Regions from separate parts of the Homo sapiens genome. Here region 1 is linked to region 2. The links are contacts of gene promoters, found by promoter capture Hi-C in blood cells and fetal thymus (Javierre and others, 2016). All regions are on one chromosome and are shown on one strand. The core of a region is centred on a gene start or on the middle of the fragment in contact, and the rest is flanking DNA. Distances in the headings are between cores, read along the strand shown. Region 1 holds the start of JAML (junction adhesion molecule like). Region 2 holds the start of SORL1 (sortilin related receptor 1).

Region 1 (7,543 bases), core at 71-2,570, 3.2 Mb after region 2:
CATTTACGTTATAGTTCATGATGTACAGAGAAACCTTTAGGCCAAACTTAAAATATGTAAGGAGGCAGCTTTAGGCTAAACTTGATTTAACAGTGGTTTTCAGCATCGTGCAACCAGTCATGTCGGAGCTGTACCCCCGCAAGAACCTGCAGAGGTTCCGTGGTGTGCTGGAACCAGCTTACATAGCAAGAGCTGATTACAGGCTGAGTACCCCTAATCTGAAAATACAAAAGAGTGGTTGCTATTTCAACTCCAAAATCTGTAACTTTGAGTGCCAACATGATGCTCCAAAGAAATGCTTATTGGAGCATTTTGGATTTTCAGACTAGGGACGTTCAACTTGTATGTATTCGGCAAATATTCTAAAATCTGAAAAAAATATGAAATCTGAAACATTTCTGGTCCCAAGCATATTGGATAAGGGATACTCAACCTGTATTAAGTTTTTTAGGAATTTTGCAAGCCAGTTGTTAAACTGTTGGTAGCTTGAAATAGGTTATGATGGGAATATTTATGCTGTGGAGATTGCTGGCTCTCTAGCACATCACTTCTCAAGGACCATGCAGCGTAGTGCTTGGGAGCAAACGTTCAACAGCTTTTCAGATGATACAGGACAAGTTCCATGAGTCTGCCCATGCCTAGGTCAAGCCAATCTAGCCGAGGTTGAAGGTGCGTACATTGAGAACACCTATTTTGAAGTGGTGACTAAGACTGAGAGGTATCTTGAAGTGAAGAAACCTTGAGTTCTAATCTAGGATGTCCAAGTCACCCAAGAGGTTCTCTATGGGAATCAATGGCTGCCTGTATTCTGGAAATGCTGATATCACATGGCCAGAGGAAACTTTCATGTCTACATGGTGAGTTGGAGGACTGGGCAGGCGTATCTTTGGAAGCAGGGATTGGGTGATTGCCTGGCGAGGTTGCACCTCTGTTTTGAGAGGAAAAATAAAAGAGGTTGCTGTATCTTTAACACAGAAGGTTTTGTGTTAATATTACGTTTATTGTATTTTGTTTGCATGAAATGGATTTCTTTCTCAGCACCTATTTGCCTGGTGCCATTCAAGCTCCTACCCTCAGAGGGCTTGTCATCTAAAAGGGGAGATGGCACCTGAAGAGGTCTGAGTGTGAGGTTCACCTCAGTAGGTTGAATTTGTCACCTCTTTTTAGAATGAAAGTATACATAACAATTGGGTAATGGGCCAGATGACTGAAATGAGAACCTTGATTTAGAGGTTCCTGTTTGCATCTCTGCAACCACTTCAGAAGGCACGTGTTTGGTTTGCTCTGAGCCTAACCTAGAGTGCTCGCAGCAGTCTTTCAGTTGAGCTTGGGGACTGCAGCTGTGGGGAGATTTCAGTGCATTGCCTCCCCTGGGTGCTCTTCATCTTGGGTAAGCAGTTGCTTTGAATTTCTTAAGCCATTTTTTGAACTTTTCTCACACAGAAGTGTGCCAGTCCTGAAGGCTGGTTGAATTGGTAGTCTCTCAGGATTGTGAAGCTGCGATTGCAGAACTCTTGATCTCTGCAGGGGGATGTCATAAAGTAGTCTAATGGGTGCTGTTTCAGTTACTGTCGTGTAGAGTAACTTAGGTGAATCTCCTCAGCAAAAAGAGGAGCAAAGTTTCATCATAATAAGAGTACGTGACAATGATTATGACAAGGCTTCAGCTTTTAAGTCACCCGTGGGTTTAGGTGGAGCTGTGACTGGCTGTTCTTGAGCTCACAGCAGAGCTCTTTCTTCACTGTTTTTCTTTTTAGAAGACAGTTTTTAATTTTATTTTTAAACAAATTTTATTGTGTGTATTTAAGGTATACAACATGATGTTGTGGGATGCATGTAGATAGTAAAAAGTTTACTATGGTGAAGCAGATTAATATATCCATCATTTTACATAGTTATACCACTGTTTTTCTTCTCCCCATTATAGACAAACCAATATTTAACCTTTAGAAGCCCGAGACTTAAATCTCCCAAGAAAGCTAGGCTACTGTCCATGCTTGTTACACCCTCAGCACAGCCCTGACCTTGGGAAAGGCTGATGCAGGATGGTTTAGGTATAACCTACTCTGGAGAAGAGAGCAGGAGTAAGGACCTCCAGGGTCCCATTCGCGTAGAGCATTAACCGATGTGACCTAGACTGTGTTACAGAAGCCACGTGACCTACCAGTCTGTATTCAATGGCTTAACAATGGAAAATGAGGGCATATTTTAAGACGCATGGCTTAGAGTGGTTATATGGACTTGTAGACCTAAAAACATCTGAGAGCCTAGAAGTGCACAGCAGTGTGCAGATAGATTGAGAGGACTTGGCTCTGCAGGTGGACAACACTCTGTGAGTAAAAGAAGGCTGTGCAGTTGTCCGTTTGCTCAGTGGTTAGTTGTCCTTACTAGGGACAAACACTGAGAGACAGCAGCTCTCCCTTATTTTGTCTCATGATATTGTAATTTGGGGGGTAACTTTCACATCTTGTATGGTAGTCTCATTGTAGCATGTCTCTTTTCTGAAGATTTCTTTTCTGTAATATAAAGGGGTATGGATTTTTTGGAGGGAGGGGGTGCCACTTGTTCTCATTACCCAACAGGATATGGAGGAGAGTTGCTCAGAGAAGATTAGTATAGAGTCACTACAAGTCATTTAGGTAGCCAAAATGATAACTCCAAAATTTCTAAAAGGCAAAAATCTTTACTTGCTGATAGAGGGGAGAGTCAACTTTCCAAGCAGGTCGCAATAAAGACAGCATGATGCCAACCGAATCTATTTCCTCTCTCCTCCTTTTTCTGTTGTTTATTAAAAGGTAAACAAAAATCTCATTATTTTAAAATATTATGCAAAAATCTTGTTTATGAGAGAAAGCAAAATTTCACCTTTGCATTAGTATATTATTAATGTTAGATCCAATTCTTAATAAAACCTTATAAACAAATCTATACAATCATAGTTTGACCATAAGGTAAAACGTCCACAAACCTCTCATAATTCTTTACAATTTTCTGTTAAACAAATAAATTCTCTAGAAAACCATTATTCAGACACATGGGCCCGGATTCTGGCCCTACATCAGTGTGCTTTTATTTCAGTGTTCGACCTATGGAAAAACTAAGTAATCCCCTTTAAATCTTAGCCAACCTGCTTATACCCACAGAACTTTTCATGAGATTAACCCTTCACAAACCCTTTTCAACTTGCTTAAACCATCAGTTTTGTCACATTACTCTTTTTTTTTTTTTTTTTTTTTGAGACAGAGTCTCACTCTGTCACCTAGGCTGGCATGCAGTGGCACAATCTCGACTCTCTGCAACCTCCGCCTCCCGAGTTCAAGTGATTCTCCTGCCTCAGCCTCCCAAGTAGCTGGGATTACAGGCGCTCACCACCACACCTGATTAATTTTTGTATTTTTAGTAGAGACGGGGTTTTGCCATGTTGGCCAGGCTGGTCTGGAACTCCTAACCTCAAGTGATCTCCCCACCTCAGCCTCCCAAAGTTCTGGGATGACAGGCGTGAGCCACCATGCCCAGCTGTCCCATTACTCTTTTAGGTGAGGCCAATAGTTAAAACCCTCTGAGCTAGACAAAATTACGTTCTCTTTAACAGAAACCATATTCACACGCCTTCTTATAACCTCCCACCAAAACACATTCTTTACTTACACTGTCTTTATTTTTTATGTTATTTACACTGTCTTTATGTTTAAAAATCATTAGAGTCACGTGACCTAAAAGAGATTAAAGTTTCAATTTTTTCTGATAAAATGTTTGATTTTAGTTTCTTTAAGCCAATTAATTAGAGCTCTTTTATATAAATACTATACATACAACACATATAAATACACAGACAGACAGAAATGGAAAATCAAGACAAAATTCCATTGACTGAGAAGTTCTTAGAGGGAAAGCAGGGGCTTTTTGTTTGTTTAGATGGAGTCTCGCTCTGTCGCCAGGTTGGAATGCAGTGGTGCGATCACAACTCGCTGCAGCCTCAGCCTCCTGGGCTCAAGTGATCCTCCCACTTCAGCCTCCTGAGTAGCTAGGACTACAGGTGCCTGCCACTACATCCAGCTAATTTTTGTATTTTTTTTTTGTTCAGATGGTGTTTCACCAAGTTGCTCAGGCTGGTCTCAAACTCCTGGGCTCAAGCGATCTGTCCACCTTGGCCTCTCAAAGTGCTAGGATTATAGGCATAAGCCACTGTGCCTGGCCAGCAGGGGCTTTTAAAACAATATCTGTATACATACAGCCCAAATATCGTCTTTAATTAAGTTGATTTCTGACTATGGAGTTCTCAAAATAAAAATCCTATAAAAATCTTTTATTACCAGATTTTAGCCAGGACAAATGGCCAATATTTCTGGCTTTTGAATCTTTACCTAAAGGTAACCTCCTATGTGAAATTAATAAACCTTAAGTAAGGGGATAACTTAAACAGGGACACACAAGGTGTCTCCAAAGAGATGGTAAGCAATTTACAAGATCTAGAATTGCCCCAAAGGTAACTCAGAGAAAAGAAAATTTCAAGACAGGAAATTAGGAGCTCTCCATGGAGGGGAAAAGAATCAATAAATGATTAAACCACAAAAGACTCACTTTTGGAGCCAGGAATTGAACCCAGGGCACCACTGTGAGAGGGCAAAGCTTTAGCAGTTGAGCTACAGCAGGGGTCCCCAACCCCTGGGCAGTAGACTGGCACTGGTCCATGGCCTGTTGGGAACCGAACCGCTCAGCAGGAGGTAAGTCGGGGGCAGACAAGCAAGCATTACTGCCTGAGCTCTGCCTCCTTTCAGATCAGCGAGGGTATTAGATTCTCACGGGAGCATGAACCCTATGGTGAACTGCACATGCAAGGGATCTAGGTTTCATGCTTCTTAGGAGAATCTAATTCCTGGTGATCTGAGGTGGAACAGTTTCATCCCCAAATCATCACCCACCCTCCCTGGTCTGTGGAAAAATTGTCTTCCATGAAAAAATTGTTTTCCATGGGGAAAAATTGTCCCCGGTGCCAAAAAGATTGGGGACCAGTGAACTATAGTGCAAGATAACTGCTGTTGTTTTTTTCCGGGAGGAGTTTAGAGCATTTCAAGCTTGCAAAGGATTTTAACTGCTCAAGAGAACTTTCTAGGACTAGCCATGTAATTATTACGCATGCTTCTTTTAATTTTGCCTTTTCCTTTTAATGGTGTACTCAGTTCCAATGGTGACTGAATCTAAAAGCCTGTTAAACTCCAGATAGTGATTTTCCAGATTTTTACCATATAAGCAAAAGGTATTTCCAGAAAGGGGTAGAGGAGGCATCTCTATGACAGGGAGCTCTTGAACTCAAGGGGAAATTGATAATTTTACTTGCCACCTCCAGAGTCACCCTTGGCTTTGTTTTGCTGTGATTTGGAATTCAGCGGGGGCAGAGAGCCCACTTCATTTTAAGGCCATCAGGGGCTAGAATTCTGTCCTCAGGGTCTTTCAGCCCTCAGGACAGTCCCATTTTCAGCAGCTGAGCTTGTGGCAGAGGGTACAAGCTGTGCGGGGCTTTTTCCCATGTATCCCATTGGGGCAGTTTGCCTTCCAGTGGCCTGGCCATCTGCACTGAGGGCACTTACCTGGAGGAGTGTCCTTAGGGCAACCTGGAGGGAGCTGAGGGCTTCTAAATCAGCCAACAATTGAGCCTGCCTTTCTTCCCTGCATTTTTCTTTCTCCTTAGCCCTGGCCTCCTTATTCTGCTCTTGGTTATAAAAGATCGAGGAGGCCAAGTTGAGGATTCTTTGCATAGGGACCACGCTGTATTACACAAGAAAAGTAGATGTTTCTTTTTGAGAGTCTGAGGGTTAAATTTGTCTCAATGTTTTAGGATGCAATGCAGAGGTGAGTCTGAAGGAACAGATGGGATTTGTCCCATGGTGGGACTGGAAAATGATGAGCCAACCTCTGGGGGCTAATGTCCGCTGGGGACACAAACTGCTTTCTCTTGAGGCTTCTCGCTGAGGAAAAGCGTTCCACTCTCATCCACTGATGGACTTGGGTGCACTTTCTAAAGGGCATCCCAGCTATCAGAAAGACTTCTCTGCACTGGGGCCTTGCACCGGATAATCGGTTCAGGTATGAGGAGAGGGGAGGTGAATGGGGAGACTCACTGCTCTGAGGTTGCTTGAGCTCACCTAGTTTGGGAACATCCAGAGCAGGAGGTTTGCCTGTCTTCATGGGGAGAATTTAGAGTGAGAAAGAGGTGGGTCTGAGTTCCCCAAACCATGTGTGCCAATTGTGACACATAGAGGGACTTTTGACCAGAAAAGGTAGGAGAGGGTTTTCCTCTCTCCCGGGCAAGGCAGACAAAACTCTTCAGCCCCTGGCCTTCAGGCCACACCAGGAAGTGGCCCTGGTCAGTTGTCATAAGTCACCAGAGGGATACTAGAGTTTGTTTCAGTTGAAAACTGAAAAGGAAAGCAAACTCTGATTGGGTGGTGACTTCTCACCAGGACCTTCTGGTCCACAGGGAGCAGCCCTGGCCAGGACCTTCAGCTGTCTCCAAACTTGGATGCTGTTCACTGAGATAGTGGAGTTGGAGAGGCAAGGGACAGAGTAGGGGAGAGGTCCCCAAGCAATCCCCTTTTGGATCACCAAAATGTTGCGGGTAGTGACTAGCTAGGGCCGATGTCACCGGCAGCAAATGTATTTACCAAGACAGTCATAGGAAAGAAAGGCAGATTTATTAGAGAAGGTATGAAAACATGTTGCAAGGTTGTAATGGGCAGCACAGCAGAGAAGGCACTGTCTGCAAAGAGGCAGGGGCTGAAGGGAAGTTTTATAGGGTGGTGCTGGAGGGGGCTACCTGTGAAAGAAGTCATTGTGCCCATAGAAGTCATTGTGCCCTCAGGTTGTTTGATTAGCTATGTCTCAGAACAGTTGTTCATTGTTCTTCCTCACCTGGGTCCTCCCCAGCTGGGACCCCTCCTCATTGTTGCTTACTTAACAGGACTACACACATACTGTTCTCCATAGTGGCTGTACTAGTTTGCATTCCTACCAATAATGTATAAGAGTCCCCTTTTCTCTGCATCCTCACCAGCATTTGTTGTTTTTTTGTCTTTTTGATAATAACCACCCTAACTGGTATGAGATGATAACTCATTGTGGGTTTGATTTGCATTTCCATGATTACTGATATTGAACATTTTTTTCCATATATGTGTTGGCCATTTGTATGTCTTCTCTTGAGAAATGTCTGTTCAGACCATTTGCCCATTTTTAACCCCCCATACACTATTAGTAATAGAAAAGAAGATCCTGATAGTTATAACCCCCTAGAAGGACAGAAGGTATTTGCCAGAATTTATACTGTGAAAGAACCATGAGCTCAGGTCAAAATATTTGGCCAACAGATGAGATAACTTACTATGGAGAATTATCTCCAAACATCTGCTGAGGAGATAAATCAGTATCTGGAAAGAGAAGGAAGCAGTGTAGAAGTTGTGAATGTCAATGGTGTCTATTATCAAGGTGCTTAAGGTGCTTCTGAATGCTTTTGCTGGATTTTTTTTAAAACTGAAATTCATTTTAT
Region 2 (7,193 bases), core at 2,507-5,006:
TAGGGAATCCCTCTTCTTGGACCTGGCCTTTAAGAAGGGGCTCAACTTCTAAACTTTGCCTTTTTTTTTTTTTTTTTTAGATGGAGTCTCACTCTGTCCCCCAGGCTGGAGTGCAATGGCGCGATCTCGGCTCACTGCAACCTCCGCCTCCGGGGTTCAAGCGATTCTCCTGCCTCAGCCTCTTGAGTAGCCAGGACTACAGGCATCTGCCACCACGCCCAGTGAATTTTTGTAGTTTTAGTAGAGACGGGGTTTCCCCATGTGGACCAGGCTGGTTTCGAACTCCTGACCTCAAGTGATCCACCCGCCTCGGCCTCCCACAGTGCTGGGATTACAGGCGTGAGCCTTGAACATGGGCAGAAAAGTCCTGATATCTGCCAGCAAATTATTTTCACCCCTACAATCACATTTCAGTATCATAAATGTGCCTTTAAGTAATCATGGCAGAAGCCGGTCTCCCCACCTTAGAGAAACTGAGGAGGAAAATGGTCAAAATAACCAAGCCTAGTTTACCCAAGACATTAGCGAAGCAGAGGAAAAAGGACCGACATTGACTCCAGCACAGGGCTCTTTCTCAGATGCAAGTATTCCCCTAGAAAGCCTTCCCTTCTCTTCTCCCTGAAGGTGGTGGCCTTAACATCGCCTCTAGGCCTGCTTCCTTCAGGCAGCTTCTGCTTCCAGCCCTAACCTGTGCTGCCAGTGTCCTCTTAACCTCACTCAAAGGTCAGAGGGCAAGAAGCTGGACAGTGTCTGAGCCCACCACCCCTTATCTCTCCATCTCCCATGCGCTGCATGTCACACAGCCCGTTATCACACCATTGTAGAGTTGTGGCTGGTTTCTTGTGACCATGTTTCCTGGTTCCCATCCTGGTACATTGACATGCCTGTATCTGCATCTGCTTGCTCTCCTCCTTAAATTGTAAATTTCCTAAAAGCAGGAATGAAATTTTATTCCCCAGCTCACTGCACCTCCATAGAACCACACTCAAGTCAAGCAGTACTGTTGGAAAACATCACCATTCCTTAGGTTTAAACGTTGAAGGGGAAAGTCGTGATTACAAAGTGGAACTTGGCTTAAGGCTAAAAGTAGGACCATATAATTTATTGTCACATCTTGACACTTTTGAGAGTGAAGGGGGTGCTATTCATAACCACCAGAGACAACTTAGAAACCAGGTCTGCCCCAGGGAAACACAGAGGCAATGGTCATCCTTGCTAGAAAGATCATTCCAAATAGATGTTAGTTACTCCAGAGTTCCAAGAGGGGCACCTCAAACCCCTTCAGTCACCAACCTGTGCTTGCATTCTGAAGGGTCTGCACCAGATAGAACTTGTGGCAGAAAGCCCAGTACAGGGAAGTTCTTCCTTTTATCTGACTCAAATCCTTACAGATTCAAATTAATTCCACTTCTTATTAACCTCAGAGCAAGAGGCAACAATGGCATAGGAAGGCAGCCACAGAGAAGAAAAATCTCACCCTTGTACCCTCACCCTCCGGTTAGGAATTCCTCATTATGAGTTTGACTGCTAGTTCTCCATCCTTCAGCTGAACCAAACTCAATCTGGCTGGCCCAGAAACTCAAAAGCCCAGGGTTTGGGAGTCACTCCCAGTGAGAACAGAGTTCATGTCCAACCTGCCCCACATCCCCTGGAGCTTTTCATAAACCAAACCCAAGAAAGAAATGGCACATGTACACATATTTTTGAAACCAGAAAACTTTTTCCTCAACCTAAACTATAGCTTCAGGGGACCTGAGCACTGGGAGGGATTGTCTCCCACCAGCCCCCAACTCCCAGTTCCCAGAATGCTGATTCAAGAGCACAGCAGAGCTGGGCTGACTGCGGAGGCCCAATGAAGAAGTGGGCCACTCCTCCTCCTTCTCCCACCCTCCATCAGCCCCATGCTGGTGTCGCTGTTAAGAGCAAGGACCTTGATGACTTCTTTTTGTTCATACACATATTTGTCATATGGGGTGGGGACAGGGGGACAAGGATCTGGGCCCAAGAGGAACTGAGCATGCAGGTTCCTGCAGCCTGTGGCCACCATTAGTTACATGCCCTGGGGCACACATTCTTGCCCAGGGACCAATAGTGGAGGGAAATCCAACGCTCCCACCCAGTCACCACCATCCTTTCCCCCTTTATACCAGATCTATTTTATTTTAGAAAGGAGGTATTTCAGCAGCATTGCATAAAGACAGGGTGACTGCAGTCAAGCAAAGGTCACTGAGACAATGCAGACAAAAACTAGAGAGCAGGCCACCTTCCCGGTATGACCTTGGACTAGTCACTTCACCATTCCACGCTTCAGTTTCTTCACCAACAAAATGACACAATAGGGTGATATGTTTACAAGGTTCGTCCTGGATCCAAGGGTTGAACATTTAACTCTGTATTTCCTGAAGAAATGGCTAAAGTGAAATTAGTGAGAAAAGGCAGAACTCAGGGTAATCTTTTATTAATAATTTCTACTTCAAAAGGAACAATTTGACTCTAGAAAACAAGTGTATTTACCCCCTCCTCTGGTCCTACTTTTTCTCCCCCACCGACCTTATACTTTTGCTGATGTCAATCTTAACTGCAGGACTGGGAGTCTCATGAGGCAATAACACGGTCAAATTAATTTTGCCAGTGCTGATCCTAACCTACAAACTCCATCTGCAATTCCTCGCAGTAAGTCTGACCATAAAAGTGAAATTCACGTTACTTATGATCTAATAAACCTATTGCCTGGGTAGAAATAAATCACTTATAGAATAATAATGCCCACCAAATTTCCTGCAGTCCTTTCAAATCTCCAAGTGCCATGAGGGGTATTCCTCTCCAAAATAAAGTTATCTTGACGGGGGTGGGAGAGTCAGCATCTTGAAGGGTGGGGAAGAAGGAATGGAGAGCATCTCACACGCTCGCCAAAAATTAAAAATTAAAAATTCAGCCTTTACACACGCACACACATACACACACCTCTTGTCTGACTGTACAGAGATAGTCGACAAGCTTTCAGGTTTGCCCACTTTTATTGTGCTAATAATGCTAAGTGTGGAAACCCCCACCTCGTGCTGTTCTGTGTAAGTGTACCGCAACTGCAGGGTGCTCGCCTCCACTGCCAACTGATGATACACTAAAGAAAGCCCGTTTTTTATCCAGATGTAAAATGAAGCTGCACCCCTCCTATACCTGCCGGAAACTACATCTCTCTGCACACACCCTGGGGTAATACGCACTGCACCCGGCGAGTTACCTGGAATACGTTTACTAAATCGACAGGAAGAAGGAAAGATCAATGCGATTCAAGTGCTGACGGTTGTACTCGTGAAGGAAAAAAACAAATGCAAGCCGGGAAGTCCCCAGTGGTGCCTGCACCTAGGAGGCGACTGCAACGGATGGATGCGGGGGTGAGGAAGTGCAGGGAGAGGAAAAAACTGGAGGGAGGCGGGTTGCAAAACTGCTCACCTGTCCGTACACCTTGATGGGCTCGGGCTGCAGGGCAGCGCTCCGTTTCCTCCGGAGCGGCTTCTCGTCCGCGCGGCTCGCCCCCCTGGCATCCCCGCGCGCCCACAGCCGCAGCTCGCGCGGGTCGCCCTGCACCACGAGGAAGCCCCGGTCCTGGGGCAAGGGCGCGCTGCCGCCGTGCAGCCTCTGCGTCCAGACTTCGCAGAGAGCTCCGGGCGGCAGCAGTGCGACCAGGGTGAATAGGAACGGGAGTCGCGACTCCCTCCTGCTGCTCCGTGTCGCCATGTTCGGGCGAACGCTACTGCAGGTGGCGCCGCCGCCAGGAGAGAATGTGCAGCGCGAGGCCAGGAGAGCCGCTGGGCCGGGACCGCGCGCGCCGCTCCCGGGGCTCCAGGCCGCCCGCGCCGCTCCGGGCCGCCCCGCTGCGCCCGCCGCCGCTGCCGCCAGGTCCCGCTCGGTTCGGCGCGGCGCCGTCACGTGTGAGGCTCGCAGCGCGTCCCTTTCGCGCACTTTCTGCGCTCGGCGGCCTCGGCGGCGACTCCGGCCCCTCCCTGGCGCGGGGATGGGGAAGTTAAGGCAGCGAGCGCCGGTGGGGGTGCGTCCCTTCCCTGGCGGGCACACCTCCTTGTTCTCCCTGCAGGAATGAAGAGTTGCATGGGGCTCGCTCGTTTTCTCTGGAGTTAGTTGCGTCCTATACAGGGTCGTGTCGAGGTCGTCCTAAACCGTGGCCACTTTCCTGAGTGCACAGCCCGCAGTAGCGCCACAAGACCACCTCCCCCCGGCCCCGGCCTCATCCCCACCTCCAGGGAAGAGTCCAGAGCCACAGAATTAGCTCCTAGAACGCAACCAACAAGAGTCCAGATGAACCCGCTCTATTGGGAAACTCACAGTTTTTCATCTACTCTGGGCACCACAACGTATTTGCAGGGGCCACAGCAAAAACTACCCTTGATCAAGCTACGTGCCCCAGCCTGAAGCACAGCAAATAAACATCCTGCACAGAGGCAGTAAAAACAAGGGTACATCTGACAAAGAATGCACCACACCTGGACAATTATTACACAGCTATACAGGGTGTGCTTGCACGCACGCATGAATACCTGTGCGTGGCACAGGGCCCCAGCGGCGGCTTGCTTATGATCCCTCCAAGGTGACCAAGCACTGAGCCACCCTGCCTCAGCAGTAAAATAGACATATTTACCAGTCCCTTCAACCCACAGCCAGGAGCTAGGCAAACACCCACAGAGGAGGGAGGACACACTTTAACCCTACATTCAGCTTGACGAGCCAAACTCTCTGAACCACAGGAGATAAAACTTCTGCCATGGAACTGCTAAGGTACGCCCAAGGAAAATATTTTTTTTGCAGGTTAGTGGGAGCAGCCAAAGTCTATGTACTACTGCAACCTTTCCTATTTCATTTTATGTTTCACTGCCCTCTGAACTCAGATCCTGGTTTTTGATAAGAATAAAGACACAGCAAGCAGGGCTGAAAGGGAGACTACCTTTATAGTTGCATACAAGCTGCTGTTCAGGGGAAGGAAGGGATGGTCAGTTCAATTTTCTAAAAACATTCCTCATCTCCGACAAGCCACGGTAGCCCGATTCCTACCCCGGCCCACTCTAGTACTTTTCAGGTAGCTTAGCAAAGCCCCCTCCTCTACCTAGGACTACCACTGACAACCTGCCAGAGTCAGGCCAGCTTGCCTCATCTCCCTGAAGCCAGTATTCAACCACCCTACCCTACCCCATGCCAGACTTGCTGGGGACCTCTGCCTCAGGTTCTGCACTCTCCCACCTCCTCCCACACCCGATTTTCTCCCCAAGTCAGATGATGTCTTTCTGTCCATCTCAACATAATTACAGAACCATCCAGTTCTCCCCACCAAGCAAATCATGCATTCTCTATGTTAACCACCCTGCTTTGTTCATTATACATTGTATACAGGTATCAAAATACCACACTTTCCCCAGTGTGGTATTATTGGGGTGCCTTCATCCTGCACCCCAACTTTGATGTTATTTCAGAGGGATTGAGGAAGTGGTAGCTTGTTTACAACCCAGAGCTGGTTTTGAAGCTGAGAGGAACGCCTTGCTCATATTGTGCAATTCAGCTCTAACTCATATATATAACATATATATTTATTATATACTTATATATGTCAATTAAAAATAATAATTCAAACAATCATGCATCCTCCAAGAAAGCCACTGAACCACTGTCACCTCCCACCCCTCATCTAGATCAGCTCTGTCTGGTCAGCATCACCTTACCAGGAATGGACAACCCCATGGTCTCTCAGGACCAGCAGCAAAGATATCTCTACTCCCATTTAGCCCTCAAAGGAAAATGAAGGGAATATGGCTAAAGTGAGAACATCCTGTAGATGATTCAATTATTGGGGTTTTTCCAACATATATTTAATGAGAACCTTCTCTGCAAGAGCAAGTGTCAGAGTCCCAGCAGAAAACAGAGACAGGAGTCTCCTAAGTGTGGATTTGAAGATGGGCATCTGTTTGCCCACACAAACTGCTGGCTTAAGGTTCAGATGGCCCCTTGCACAGAAGGACTAGTAGGGCAGGGCCAGCTACTTGCTCATTTTGATGTTGATTTGCAACTTGAATGCTAGAGAATTGGTAAGAATATTCAAACATGGTTAATTAACTCCTTGCAAGCCCTCCTATCTAATCATTATCTACATTCCAAACCATTCTCAGGTAGATAATCAGCAACCCCCCAAGACTGTGCCTGCTGCACAACTACAGAACGCAGTGGAAGACACGCTGAATTCTGAGTCAGAAGGTTGACTTTCTAGCTGTGGGGACTTGGCCAAACCTCCTCAGAGCTTCAGTTTTCTCATCTGTAAAATAGAGATCTTAATCCCTACCAATCTCACAGGACTGCTGAGAGTATCAGATGAGGTAAGTATATAAAATAGCTGTGCAAATTTGTGTGAAGGCCTCCAGAGAGAAATAGTGCATGCAGGTGGCATTAGAAACATAGATTCTAGTCCTGGCTTTGCAACCAAATTATTATGTAATTTTTTGTCTTGATCATCTTGTCTCTTACGATTTCTTCATAAGTTAAATGAAAAGACACCTTTCAGCCCTGACCACTCCCAAACCTTCAGGACCCCCACTGGGTTGTGAGATAGGAGCAGCCACAGGCAAGGTCACCCAGGACAGGAGTTAGAGCTGAATCGTGCAATATGAGTGAGGTGTTCCTCTCAGCTTCAAAACCAGCTCTGGGTTGTAAACAAGCTACCACTTCCTCTATCCCTCTGAAGTAACATCAAAGTTGGGGTGCAGGATGGAAGACAGTACCATATCCCCCTCTGTCCCATCTTGCATGGCCTTGCTCGGATGCTGCCCAGCATCATGACGAAAATCAACATGCACGGAAATGTAATGATAGACTCACAGCTGTGTATAAAACAGTCTTAAGCCTGTTGTCAGACTTTAAACTGCCCTCCTCTGTCCTACTGCCCATCTTAGGCCACTGGAGATGGAGGTAGAGGACAAACACACAGAGGTCACAGTGTCCTACATTTTTATCCAGGTGGAGTCATGTTTAAAATAGCAGCAAGGACAGCCACGAAGAGGAAAAAACTCCCCAAAGCCTAATTTGACTTCTTTCTGTTCTTTCTCTTCCTGTGGCCTTCTCACATGCTCACCTCCTGGCTGGCCAACTTCTATTCAGCCTTCAGGTTTCAGAGCAGCCTCCTTAGGCACCTAGGCTAG

What was found. The method cuts DNA at HindIII sites, captures the fragments that hold promoters and counts their contacts. A CHiCAGO score of 5 or more calls a contact.
Region 1: the fragment with the promoter of JAML here is called in contact with the fragment with the promoter of SORL1 in region 2 in 1 of 17 cell types (neutrophils); the score reaches 5.1 in neutrophils.

Annotation. Positions count from the first base shown.
Region 1 is chr11:118,218,788-118,226,330 of GRCh38, reverse strand. It overlaps JAML (junction adhesion molecule like), which reads left to right and starts at 1,320. Exons shown (of 10, transcript NM_001098526.2): 1 at 1,320-1,390. The HindIII fragment of the contact is 17,664 bases long and covers 1-4,631 here.
Region 2 is chr11:121,448,877-121,456,069 of GRCh38, reverse strand. SORL1 (sortilin related receptor 1) reads right to left here and starts at 3,756. Exons shown (of 48, transcript NM_003105.6): 1 at 3,454-3,756. The coding sequence starts at 3,738. SORL1-AS1 (SORL1 antisense RNA 1) reads left to right here and starts at 3,103. Exons shown (of 3, transcript NR_183636.1): 1 at 3,103-3,395; 2 at 6,171-6,374. RefSeq lists silencers at 1,746-1,795, 3,640-3,689, 3,820-3,869 and enhancers at 2,920-2,969, 2,990-3,059, 3,100-3,149, 3,160-3,349, 4,740-4,799. The HindIII fragment of the contact is 8,160 bases long and covers 3,000-7,193 here.